Regions from separate parts of the Homo sapiens genome. Here all the other regions are linked to region 3. The links are contacts of gene promoters, found by promoter capture Hi-C in human tissues and cell types (Jung and others, 2019). All regions are on one chromosome and are shown on one strand. The core of a region is centred on a gene start or on the middle of the fragment in contact, and the rest is flanking DNA. Distances in the headings are between cores, read along the strand shown.

The links. Contacts are between HindIII fragments. The study calls those that stand out against the background at their distance.
Region 1: a contact is called between a fragment that was not itself captured here and the fragment with the promoter of ZNF91 in region 3, in 2 of the 25 tissues and cell types used here (adrenal gland and spleen).
Region 2: a contact is called between a fragment that was not itself captured here and the fragment with the promoter of ZNF91 in region 3, in 3 of the 25 tissues and cell types used here (aorta, dorsolateral prefrontal cortex and thymus).
Region 4: a contact is called between a fragment that was not itself captured here and the fragment with the promoter of ZNF91 in region 3, in 2 of the 25 tissues and cell types used here (aorta and mesenchymal stem cells).

The regions. Positions count from the first base shown.
Region 1 is chr19:24,150,825-24,154,362 of GRCh38, reverse strand. No RefSeq gene overlaps it. Among named protein-coding and RNA genes, the nearest start is that of LINC03085, 6.1 kb to the right of the region's middle. The HindIII fragment of the contact is 4,330 bases long and covers 1-3,512 here.
Region 2 is chr19:24,101,319-24,104,622 of GRCh38, reverse strand. All of the region lies in intron 1 of ZNF254 (zinc finger protein 254), which reads right to left. Among named protein-coding and RNA genes, the nearest start is that of ZNF254, 16 kb to the right of the region's middle. The HindIII fragment of the contact is 3,167 bases long and covers 1-3,024 here.
Region 3 is chr19:23,393,320-23,396,865 of GRCh38, reverse strand. It overlaps ZNF91 (zinc finger protein 91), which reads left to right and starts at 1,395. Exons shown (of 4, transcript NM_003430.4): 1 at 1,395-1,541. The coding sequence starts at 1,512. RefSeq lists an enhancer at 1,125-1,993. The HindIII fragment of the contact is 10,945 bases long and covers 1-3,546 here.
Region 4 is chr19:24,351,796-24,354,927 of GRCh38, reverse strand. No RefSeq gene overlaps it. Among named protein-coding and RNA genes, the nearest start is that of LINC03085, 210 kb to the right of the region's middle. The HindIII fragment of the contact is 3,256 bases long and covers 1-3,132 here.

The sequences.
Region 1 (3,538 bases), core at 98-2,597, 760 kb before region 3:
GGTCTTTAAAATGTGCTATATTTTGCCATGCGTGGTGTCTCCCGCCTGCAATCCCAGCACTTTGGGAGGTCAAGTCAGGTGGATTACAAGGTCAGGAGATCAAGACCATCCTGGCTAACACGATGAAACCCTGTCTCTACTAAAAATAGAAAACATTAGCCGGACGTGGCGGCACACGCCTGTACTCCCAGCTACTCAGGAGGCCGAGACAGTAGAATCGCTTGAACCAGGGAGGTGGAGGTTGCAGTAAGCTGAGATCACGTCACTGCACTCCAGCCTGGGTGACAGAGTGAGACTCCGTCTCAAAAAAAAAAAGTGCTATATTTATTAATAAAGCAATTTTAACTAATAAATTAATGAGTTTTAACATACTGAAGTGGCATCACCTGTGTGGGGTAAAGACCCGAGGTTCGTCATCTAATGCCAAGGAAATCAGTGCATGGACACACAAGAAGATGGTTTAGGAGCAGTGGTTTAATAGGCAAAAGAAAGAGAAAGGAGAATAGTCTTCTCTTCTGAGAAAGAGCAGTGCCTCTCAGTGGGACTTCCAGCCTGCAGTGAAGCGCAATGGATTTTACACACTGGCTTCAGGAGCAGGTGGCTGGTTTACATAGGGCCCAAACATTGGTTGGATCAGGTTTGAAAGTTTACACAGCTGAGGCGGGCAGCTGAGAAGGCCAAATAGGAAGAGCTCTGGACTACAGCTCCCAGCATGAGTGACGCAGAAGACAGGTGATTTCTGCATTTCCATCTGAGGTACTGAGTTCACCTCACTAGAGAGTGCCAGACAGTGGGCGCAGGACAGTGGGTTCAGCACACCATGTGCGAGCTGAAGCAGGGTGAGGCATTGCCTCACTCAGGAAGCACAAGGGGTCAGGGACTTCCCTTTCCAAGTCAAAGAAAGGGGTGACAGATGGCACCTGGAAAGTCGGGTCACTCCCACTCTAATACTGTGCTTTTCCAACAGGCTTAAAAATGTCACACCAGCAGATTATATCCTGCACCTGGCTCGGAGGGTCCTACGCCCATGGAGCCTCGCTGATTGCTAGCACAGCAGTCTGAGATCAAACTGCAAGGTGGCAGCGAGGCTGGGGGAGGGGCGCCTGCCATTGCCCAGGCTTGCTTAGGTAAACAAAGCAGATGGGAAGCTCCAACTGGGTGGAGCCCACCAAAGCTCAAGGAGGCCTGCCTGCCTCTGTAGACTCCACCTCTAGGGGCAGGGCACAGACAAACAAAAAGACAGCAGTAACTTCTGCAGACTTAAATATCCCTGTCTGACAGCTTTGAAGAGAGCAGTGGTTCTCCCAGCACACAGCTGGAGATCTGAGAACAGGCAGACTGCCTCCTCAAGTGGGTTCCTGACCCCTGAACCCCAAGCAGCCTAACTGGGAGGCACCCCCCAGTAGGGGCAGACTGACACCTCACACAGCCGGGTACTCCTCTGAGACAAAATTTCCAGAAGAACGATCAGACAGTAGCATTCGCGGTTCACAAAAATCAGCTGTTCTGCAGCCATCGCTGCTGATACCCAGGCAAAAAGGGTCTGGAGTGAACCTCTAGAAAACTCCAACAGATCTGCAGCTGAGGGTCCTGCCTGTTAGAAGGAAAACTAACAAGCAGAAAGGACATACACACCAAAAACCCATATGTACAACACCATCATCAAAGACCAAAAGAAGATAAAACCACAAAGATGCAGAAAAAACAGAGCAGAAAAACTGGAAACTCTAAAAAGCAGAGGGCCTCTCCTCCTCCAAAGGAACGCAGTTCCTCACCAGCAATGAAACAAAGCTGGACAGAGAATGACTTTCAGGAGTTGAGAGAAGAAGGCTTCAGATGATCAAACTACTCTCAGCTACAGGAGGAAATTCAAACCAAAGGCAAAGAAGTTAAAAACTTTGAAAAAAATTTAGACGAATGTACAACTAGAATAACCAATACAGAGAACTGCTTAAAGGAGCTGATGCAGCTGAAAGCCAAGGCTCCAGAACTACGTGAAGAATGCAGAAGCCTCAGGAACCAATGCAATCAACTGGAAGAAAGGGTATCAGTGATGGAAGATGAAATGAATGAAATGAAGCGAGAAGGGAAGTTTAGAGAAAAAAGAATAAAAAGAAATGAAAAAAGCCTCCAAGAAATATGGGACTATGTGAAAAGGCCAAATCTACGTCTGATTGGTGTACCTGAAAGTGACGGGGAGAATGGAACCAAGTTGGAAAACACTCTGCAGGATATTATCCAGGAGAACTTCCCCAATCAAGTAAGGCAGGCCAACATTCAGATTCAGGAAATACAGAGAACGCCACAAAGATACTCCTCAAAAAGAGCAACTCCAAGACACATAATTGTCAGATTCACCAAAATTGAAATGAAGGAAAAAATGTTAAGGACAGCCAGAGAGAAAGGTCAGATTAGCCACAAAGGGAAGCCCATCAGACTAACAGCGGACCTGTCAGCAGAAACTCTACAAGCCAGAAGAGAGTGGGAGCCAATATTCAACATTCTTAAAGAAAAGAATTTTCAACCCAGAATTTCATATCCACCCAAACTAAGCTTCATAAGTGAAGGAGAAATAAAACACTTTACAGACAAGCAAATGCTGAGAGATTTTGTCACCACCAGGCCTGCCCTAAAAGAGCTCCTGAAGGAAGCACTAAACATGGAAAGGAAAAACCGGTATCAGCCACTGCAAAATCACACCAAATTGTAAAGACTGTCGAAGCTACAAAGACACTGCATCAACTAACGAGCAAAATAACCAGCTAACATCATAATGACAGGATCAAATTCACACATAAAAATATTAATTTTAAATGTAAACGGACTAAATGCTCCAATTAAAAGACAGAGACTGGCAAATTGGATAAAGAGTCAAGACCCATCAGTGTGCTGTATTCAGGAAACCCATCTCATGTGCAGAGACACACATAGGCTCAAAATAAAAGGATGGAGGAAGATCTACCAAGCAAATGGAAAACAAAAAAAGGCAGGGGTTGCAATCCTAGTCTCTGATAAAACAGACTTTAAACCAACAAAGAACAAAAGAGACAAAGAAGGCCATTACATAATGTTAAAGGGATCAATTCAACAAGAAGAGCTAACTATCCTAAATATATATGCACCCAATACAGGAGCACCCAGACTCATAAAACAAGTCCAGAGAGACCTACAAAGAGACTTTGACTCCCACACTATAATAATGGGAGACGTTAACACCCCATTGTCAACATTAGACAGATCAACGAGACAGAAAGTTAACAAGGATACCCAGGAATTGAACTCAGCTCTGCACCAAGTGGATCTAATAGACATCTACGGAACTCTCCACCCCAAATCAACAGAATATACATTTTTTTCAGCACCACACCACACCTATCCCAAAATTGGCCACATAGTTGGAAGTAAAGCTCTCCTCAGCAAATGTAAAAGAACAGAAATTATAACAAACTGTCTCTCAGACCACAGTGCAATCAAACTAGAACTCAGGATCAAGAAACTCACTCAAAACCACTCAACTACATGGAAACCGAACAACCTG
Region 2 (3,304 bases), core at 192-2,691, 710 kb before region 3:
ATAGAAAAATTTTTCAGACACCCTCGACTATCATAAGCATTTTTAAAAGTAGTTAAGAAAAACTTATTAGGGAGAAAAAACACAGGTATAGAAGTGAAGATTTGCAAGTACTAAATGCAAGGCATTCCAGAAAGCAGAGTAGACACAGCTCTTGATCTGGGACACGTTTAGCTGAAAAAAAAAGTCACTTTTTCTCTCTCCTCCTCCTCTAGAATTCTTTCTCAGATGAGATATTCTGGACTAATTACACCTGCATCTTGACAATATGCCTTTAAAAATTTGAGCACATGTTCACCTGTTACCACCACACTCAAAGTCAGAAGGCTCAAGACACAAAAACTCTACCCATTTCTGTCCTTTACAACAAAAAAGATTCAGGAACAATGAGCTGCTCCACAGAGAGAAAAATATAAGTTTCTCTTCTTTTTGTCCCCAGGCGCCCTCCCCTGTTACAAACACCAGGAATTTCTGCTACAGTAATAGAAATATCGAATCCCAGCACTTTGGGAGGCCAAGGCAGGTGGATCACGAAGTCTGGAGTTCAACAGCAGCCTGGCCAACATGGTGAAACCCCATCTCTACTAAAAATACAAAAGTTGGCTGGGTGTGGTGTCTCACGCCTGTGATCCCAACACTTTGGGAGGCCAAGGCAGGTGGATCACCTGAAGTCAGGAGTTCAAGATCAGCCTGGCCAACAGAGTGAAACCCCACCTCTACCTAACATACAAAACTTAGCTGGGAATGGTGGCAGGCACCTGTAATCGCAGCTACTCAGGAGGCTGAGGCAGGAGAATCACTTGAACCCGGGAGGCAGAGGTTGCAGTGAGCCGAGATTGTGCCATTGACTCCAGCCTGGATGACAGAGCGAGACTCCATCTCAAAAAAAAAAAGAAAGAAAAAGAAAAGGAAAGAAATATTGGCCACACTGTCCTATCCTTACCAAACTCAAACAGAACAGATTCCTAGAACATTCTTTAGTGCAAAAGTGGAACTTAACTCAATGAATGTATCTTGAACTCCTCATATTTGATGCTGGCACCTGAGAGTCACATGAGGCACTTAATTAAAACAAATAGACGCTTTCACCCAGAACAGAAACTGTGAAAAGGGCACAAGTAAAGAGAGTTCTGCATATTGGCCATGTGATTCTAATTAGAAGCCTGATCTTATAACCACTTACCTAAGCATTATCACTCAAGCTTTAATGAGCTTATGAATCGCTTTGTAAAATTGGCCCCACTCTATGTAATGCGATTCTGCAGGTTTGGAAATGGTCCATAAATGGGTGTTCTAAACAAGTCTTCTGTCAATGCTGGTGTCACTCTCTCTGGGCTCATTGTTAGCATTAGTTAGAAAAATGAGGTACAGCACAGAGCCCCTTACACTCAGCACTTTTGTAAAAACACAAATACTTCTGATGCAAATGAAGACAACCATTCTCTATCTTAAAGTATCATATTATTTTCTGGCTCTTTAAAGTTTACAGAGAAAACAGAAAGCAGCAATTTTCTGAGTAAGTCTGCATTTGGAAAACAACATGTGCACATGTATTAATGCAATGTTTATTAAGCAGGTACTATGTGATCAACAGGATGTTACAGAGCACTGTGATAGCACATTATTTGATTCTAATAATACCCTGTGAGTTGATACTAAGTGTCCAATAAATCCAAGGATTTAGAATAAAGACCCAGCATTTTTATTTCCTCTTCTGTTTATCATTGAGTTTTTTAAAATGCATGGAATAAAATCTAAATACAGACAGATGAGAAGGACACAGATAGAGTTTAATGAAATGTAGATGAATTTTTATTGTATTTATATTTGCTATTTTGTGACTTGTGAATCAACTACTATATCTGCAGGAACAGAAAACAAGTTGCTAAATGGAATGTCTCTGTAAACACTGGTTTTAATATAAAATTATTAAATTAAGACCCTATAATACATGTTATTTTTCCATTTATCTGCTATTGGGTTTCAGAAAAGTGTGAGCACCAACTCTAAAAAGGCAACAGGATTCATCACCCAAAACTCTGATCTCTTCTAGTTAGTTCTGTGAGGCAAAACTCCAGGGTAGGGCAAGACTTAAATAAGGCCTTCAAAAAGGGTGAATCTAAACAGGGCTGAAGCAGGGTGTAGAGTTGATGTAAAATTCTGTTCTTTACACCACTGGGGAGTATTTTTTTTTTATGTTTCTTTTTTTAAGCTTACCTAAAAGAAAAAAAAAAAACTTAAATCTCAGAGTTTGTGTAATTTTAATCTTTTTTAGCCCCATTGCCCTCTAATTTCATATCACATACTAATAAGCAATTTAAACAAATCCCTTAAGGTTTTCTAGAATAATTTAGAAGATAAATAAGTTTACTTAGCAAGGCAAAAAAAAAAAAAAACAAATTTTGTTTATTAATATATGTTCAGGTATAGACATCTGAAGTCACAATATAAAGAAAATGGCCCAAATAAAGCCCATATTTTTGCACACATCTATTTATTGTACCCACCATATGATGCATAATTAAATCATTTATCCAGTTGCTAGTCTAGACTAAAAGTTCCTGCATGGTAGGGACCATGACTGCGTCATCTATTTTTCTAATGACTATATGAAATAGAAGCAATTAGTTTATCTCTTTGAGTCTGCAGACCTCCTCCTTGTTTTTACCCAAGTACCAGGGAACTGGAGAAACTCTCATCTGGGTACCAACCGAAGACAGCTCTTGCATGAGGGGAGGAACAATCACAGGATGACTCATTTCATTTACACTAAGACAGAAGCAAAATTGCCCACTCTTGTCAGCCTGACACAATTCTGTTCTGGAGATTCTCAAATGTCTCAAAGACACCTAGGTGATTGTGAGAGCATTTCCAGTGACCCTGGACTGATGGTTCAATAGCAAGCCAGCAGGAGAGACTCAGGCTGATTCTAAATAGAAAATGGAAGTACCCTGGTGGAGCTGCAGAACCTGGATCACCTGTCCTGATTAGCTAGCTTTTTGGTATGTAGAAGTGCAAGAATACTCTAATATCATATTTTCCAGGTAAGTATACTTGTGCTCAGAGCTCTGGCTACTTTGTGGCCTTGATCTCTCACTCCTAAGATGCTTCTTTACACTTAAGAGATTCTGCCATCAGATTCTATTTACACCTGGAGCCTCTCACATAACTGTAGCAGGTGAAAACACAAGATGTGAAAAGGTCAAAGAGCCACACTCTCAAAGGAGGGATCTAAAATGTCTATGTTGACATCTCACAATGCAGAAAATGCCTCCTATTGGTTTTCTGTACATTCTCAATCTAAAGT
Region 3 (3,546 bases), core at 146-2,645:
GTGACAGAACAAGCTTCTCTCTTGGAAATTAAAAGAAAATAGAGAGAGTATAAACAAAAGCAAAATATGCTTTTGATGAAGAAAGTTAGAAACATTTGTCTGCTTTGAAATTACTTAAAGGTTCCTTCAAATTGAAAAAGTAAAAATAATGTAGATTAAAATGAAATATAAAAAGTTAAACAATGGACCGGCATCATGGCTTACCCATGTAATCCCACTACTTTGGGAGGCTAAGGCAGGTGGATCACCTGAGGCCAGGAGTTCGAGACCAGCCTGGCCAACATGGTGAAACCGCATCTCTACTAAAAATACAAAAAATTAGTCAGGTGTGGTGGTGCACCTGTCATCCCAGCTACTCCAGAGGCTGAGGGAGGAGAATCCCTTGGACCTGAAAGGCAGAGGTTGCAGTGAGCCGAGATCGTGCCGCTGGACTTCAGCCTGGGCCACAGAGCAAGACTCAGTCTCAAAAAAAAAAAATTAAAAAATTATAAGAGATCATAAAATATGTATAAAAATCTAGAGAGGTCAAAAAAATTTTAATGTATTTTTATTTTTATTTTTTGCTGGGGTGCAGTGGCATGATCTCAACTCACTACAACCTCCGCCTCCCGGGTTCAGGCGATTCTCCTGCCTCAGCCTCCGGAGTAGCTGGGATTACAGACGTGTGCCACCATGCTCAGCTAATTTTTATATTTTATTTTTCATTTTTTTGAAATGGAATTTCACTCTTATTGTTCAGTCTGGAATGTATTGGCGCGATCTAGGCTTACTGCAACCTTGGCCTCCCGGGTTCTAGCAATTCTCCTGCCTCAGCCTCCCGAGTAGTTGGGATTACAGGCACGCACCACCATGCTCAATAATTTTGTATTTTTAGTAGAGATGGGGTTTCACCATGTTAGCCAGACTGGTCTCGGACTCCTGACCTCAGGAGATCCACCTGCCTCGGCCTCCCAAAGTGTTGGGATTACAGGTGTGAGCCACGGCGCCCGGCTGAGAGACTTACAATGTTTTATCAAATTAGCTTTATTATTGATAATACACAATAAAGTAAAAGTTGATTTTCTCTGGAACAAAAATTTTATGTATTATTAATATACATCAAATATTTTTGTTCACATTTTGAATACATTGAAAGAGAGCAAAGAAGAGAGAGGATTTTCCCATGCTCTGAGGTGGGCCTGGCTGAGCTGAGGAAGCCCTGCCTGAAAAGGCTGCAGCCTACGCTGTCACTCTTTCTTCATTCAGCCCAGTGTCTGATCACATCTTCTGTCACTCAGGGCCTGAGAAGGCGGGGCCTTAAACGTTATCTAATCAGGGACGCTGGGCTGGGAACTGTCCAATCAGGCACAAAGCTGGAGCGGACAGGGCGGCTTCCGGGATGTGGCTGGGCCTTTGTCTCTCGCTGCCGCCGGAGTTTCCAGGTCTCGACTTCACTGCTCTGTGTCCTCTGCTCCAGGAGGCCCAGCCTGTGTGGCCCTGTGACCTGCAGGTATTGGAGAGCCACAGCTAAGATGCCAGGAACCCCTGGAAGCCTAGAAATGGTGAGACTGCCAGGTGCGACGTCCCGAGAGAGGGAACGGGGCTCGTTGAAACCGGTGGGATGCGGCTGTGGCGAGCCTCAGGCCTTCCTTCAGTCAGCTCCACAATCCGTGCCCGGGTTCTCCTTGCCCAGCTCGGCCTCAGTCCCCTTCAGCGATAAGATGGCGGCTGCGTTGACAGGCGGGCTCCGGGCGTCCTGTCTCTTCCCTGCCCAGTGACTGTGTCCTGGCCTGGAGCCCTCTCTGGGCAGCTCTGCTCCCGCAGCGCCGCGTCTCTCCCAGATTGTGCAGGGATCACGGGAGGGTCGTCAGGGGAGAATCCTGACTGGAGGTGCTGGCTCATGAATAGGAAGCACTTTAGTCCGTGGGGTTCCCAGGGCCTCTTTTTTTCTATTAAAAATTTATGGGCGTCACCGCGAAAAGATTAAATAATTTAATCAAAGAGTGATTCAAACATTGTAGAGCACCCAGCTATGGTTTGTAATTTGTGGTCTATGAAAGGCCTTGAAGGAGATATTTTTATAAGGTTCATGGTAAAGAAAACCAAATTCAGTAATTTGCTAGGTACAGTTATGTAGGTTTTGTTTTGTTTTGTTTTTTGAAAAGGAGTTTTGCTCTCTCGCGCGGGCTGGAGTGCAGTGGCGTGATCTCGGCTCACCGCAACCTCTGCCTTCCGGGTTCAAGCGATTCTCCTGCCTCAGCCCTAGTAGCTGGGATTACAGGCGCCTGCCACCACACCAGGCCAATTTTTTTATTTTTCGGAGAGACGGGGTTTCACCTTGTTGGCCAGGCTGGTCTGGAACTCCTGACCTTAGGTGATCCACCCACCTTGGCCTCCGAAAGTGCTGGAATTACAGGCGTGAACCACCGCACCTGGCCTAGTTTCTTAATTTTTACAATCTAGGTGGAAATATCCTTCTTATGTAATCAGAGCTTAATTGGCAGTTTATAGTTGCTTAAGCCTAAATTTTGCTTCTGCCAATGTAGTAATTTACCAAAAAATGCTCTTGAGTTTAGATTTTTATTTTTAGAAGTAGAAATCCGAGGACTAGAGCCACCTCAATCTAATTGCCTGCCACTTAATTTTTCTCACACTCAAAAGGGGACGATTTTTCCCTGAATTTTTTACATGTGTCTCAAGCAGGGCCTCAAGTCCACCCCTCATCCCCTGTTCCTCCAGCCTAACTCTGGCTTGCAGTAAAATACTAAATTTCCAGTTTCGTCTGACATTCCCAAATGCCAATTTCCCCTCCCTAATTCACTTTATCAACTATTTGTCCTGTAGTGTACATTTTGATACCGATTTTAATCATTTTTATTTTTAATTTTTGAGACAGAGCCTTGCTCTGTCACCCAGGCTGGAGTGCAGTGACGCACTAGGCTCACTACAACCTCCGCCTACTGGGCTCAAATGATTCTCCTCTCTCAGTCTCCCAAGTAGCTGGACTTACAGGTGCCCACGACCACGTCTGGCTAATTTTTGTATTTTTAGTACAGACAGGGTTTCACTATGTTGGCCAGGCTGGTCTCGAACTCCTGGCCTCAGCTGGTCTGCCCACTTCGGCCTCCCAAAGAGCTGGGATTACAGACGTGAGCCACCGCATCTGGCCAATTAATTTTTTTTTTGACAAAGCATTTGATGGCACATTTAAAAAGATTTGTTTTTTTTGGTAAATACTCCCTGTGAGAAGAAAGCAAAGAATAATCTCCTGACACTGTATGGTAAAATATCTCTGTGCGTTTTTTTCGTCTATTTTCCCTAGACGCAGCTATCTTACCAGAATGTTTTTGGGTCAGGTTTTCCTTTTGGAAACTGTATAGGGTGATGTGTCTTCAGTCACCCTTCAGTTTTTTCTTGGACCTAGATTTCAGTACTGTATGGGGATAAACCAAGATACCCACCATGGCTATGTGTGCTAGAGTGTCTAGTGAATATCAGCTTCTGGGTCATATTCTCTCATAGGACAACCTGAGGTATTGAGTTTAGCTTCTCAAGTGTGGACGTGGA
Region 4 (3,132 bases), core at 274-2,773, 960 kb before region 3:
TGAAGATATTTCCTTTTTCACCAAAGGTCTCAATGGGCTCCGAAATATCCCTTCACAGATTCTACAAAAACAGTGTTTCCAAACTGTTCAATTAAAGAATGATTTAACTCTGTTGAATGAATGCACACATCACAATGCTATTTCTAAGAAATCTTTCTCATTTTTTTCTGAAGATATTTCCTTTTTCACCATAGCCCTCAATGTGTTCCTAAATATATCTTCACAGATTCTGCAAAAACAGTGTTGCCAAACTGCTCATTCAATACAAAGGTTTAATTCTCTTAGAAGAATGCACACATCAAAAAGCAGTTTCTCAGAAAGTTTCTTTCTAGTTTTCATCTGAAGATATCTGCTTTCCCAACTTAGGCCTCAAAAAGCTCATAAATATCCCTTTGCAGATTCTAGAAGAACAGAGTTTCCAAACTGCTCAATGAAAAGAAACGTTTACCTCTGTGAGATGAATGCACACATCACAAAGCAGTTTCTCAGAAAGCTTCTCTCTAGTTTATATGTGAAGGTATTTCCTTTTTCACCATAGACCTCAATTCATTCCCAAATATCCCTCCATAGATTCTACAAAAACTCCGTTTCCAAACTCCTCAATCAAAAAAAGGTTTAAGTCTGTGAGATGAATGCACTCTTCACAAAGCAGTTTCTCATAAATCTTCTTTCTAGTTTTCATCTGAAGCTATTTCCTTTCTCACCACAGGCCTCAATGCATTCCCAAATATCCCTTTGCAGATTCTATAAAAACAGTGTTTCCAAACTGCTTGATCAAAAGAAAGGTTTAACTCTGTGAGATGAATGCACTCATCCCAAAGCTGTTTCTCAGAAAGTTTCTTTCTAGTTTTTATCTGAAGATATTCCTTTTTCACCATACCCCTAAAAGCACTCCAAAATATTGCATTGCAGATTCTACAAAAACAGTGTTTCCAAACTGCCCAATCAAAAAAAAAAGTTTAACTCTGTGAGATGAATGCACACACCACAAAGCAGTTTCTCAGAATGCTTCTTTCTAGATTTTATCTGAAGATATTTCCTCTCTCAACATATGCCTCAATATGCTCCCAAATATCCCTTCTCAGATTCTACCGAAACATTATTTCCAAACTGCTCAATCAAAACAAAATTTTAACTCTGTGACATGGATGCACACATCACAAACCAGTTTCTAATAAAGCTTCTTTCTAGTTTTCATCTGAAGTTATTTCCTTTTTCACCATAGGCCTCAATGTGCTCCTAAATATCCCTTTACAGATTCTGCAAAAACTTTGTTTCCAAACTGCTCAATCAAAAGAAAGGTTTAACCTTGTGAGATGAATGCAGTCATCACAAAGCAGTTTCTCAGAAAGCTTCTTTCTAGTTTATATCTGAAGATGTTTCGTTTTTCACCATAGGCCTCAATGTGCTACCAAATATCCCTTCTCAGTTTCTACAAAAATACTGTTGCCAAACTTCAATCAAAAGAAAGGTGTACTTCTGTGAGATGAATGCACTCATCAAAAGCAGTTTCTCAGAAAGCTTCTTTCTAGTTTTGATCTGAAGATATTTCCTTTTTCACGATAGGCCTCAATGTATTCCCAAATATCCCTTCACATGTTCTACAAAAACAGTGTTACCAGAGTGCTCAATCAAAAAAAAAGCTTTCACTCTGTAAGAAGAATTCTCACATTGCAAGGTGGTTTCTGAGAAAGTTTCTTTCTAGTATTTATCTGAAGATATTTCCTTTTTCACCATAGGCCTCAATGCACTCCCAAATATCCCTTCATTGATTGCACGCAAACAGTGTTTCCAGACTGCTCAATCAAAATAAACGTTTAAATCTGTGAGAAGAATGCACAAATCACAAGGCAGTTTCTGAGAAGGCTTCTTCCTAGTATTTATCTCAAGATATTTCCTTTTTCACCAAATGCCTCAATGGGTTCCCAAAGATCCAATTGCAGATTCTACACATAAAGTGTTTCCAAACTGCTGAATCAAAAGAAAGGTTTAACTCTGTGGGATGAATGCACACATCACAATGCTATTTCTCATAAATCTTTCTCATTTTTTTCTGAGGATATTTCCTTTACTACCCTAGGCCTCAATGCGTTCCTAAACATACCTTCACAGATTCTGAAAAAACAGTGTTACCAAACTGCTCATTCAATAGAAAGATGTACTTCTGTTAGAAGAATGTACACATCAAAAAGAAGTTTCTCAGAAAGCTTCTTTCTAGTTTTCATCTGAAGATATCTCCTTTTCCAACTTAGGCCTCAACACGTTCCAACTATTCCTTTGCAGACTCTAGAAAAACCACGTTTCCAAATTGCTCAATCAAAAGTAAGGTTTAGTTCTGTGAGATGAATGCACTCATCACAAAGTTGTTTCTCAGAAAGCTTCTTTCAAGTTTTCATCTGAAGATATTTCCTTTTTCACCATAGGCCTCAATGTGCTCCCAAATATCCCTTCACAGATTCTATAAAAACAGTGTTTCCAAACTGTTCAAATGAAAGAAAGGTTTAATCCTGTGAGATGAATGCAATCATCACAAAGCTGTTTCTCAGAAAGCTTCTTTCAAGTTTTTATCTGAAGATGTTTCCTTTTTCACCATAGGCCTAAAAGCGCTCCAAAATATCGCTTTCCAGATTCTACAAAAACAGTGTTTCCAAACTGCTCAATCAAAATAAAAGTTTACCTCTGTGAGATGAATGCACACATCACAAAGCTGTTTCCCGGAAAGCTTCCTTCTAGTTTTTACCTGAACATATTTCGTTTTTCACCATAGGCCTAAAAGCACTCCCAAATATCTCTTCTCAGATTCTACAAAAACACTGTTCCCAAACTGCTCAATAAAATGAAGAGTTTAACTCTGTAAGATGAATGCACACATCACAAAGCAGTTTCTCAGGAAGATTTTTTCTAGTTCTTCTCTGAAGCTATTTCCTTTTTCACCAGAGACATCAATGTGCTCCCAAATATCTCCCCGCAGATTCTAACAAAAGAGTGTTTCCAAACTGCTCAATCAAAAGAAAGGTTTAACTCTGTGAGATGAATGCACACATCACAAGGCAGTTACCCAGAAAGCTTCTTTCTAGTTTTTATCTGAAGATATTCCGTTTTTCACCATAGACTTCAAATCGCTCCCAAATA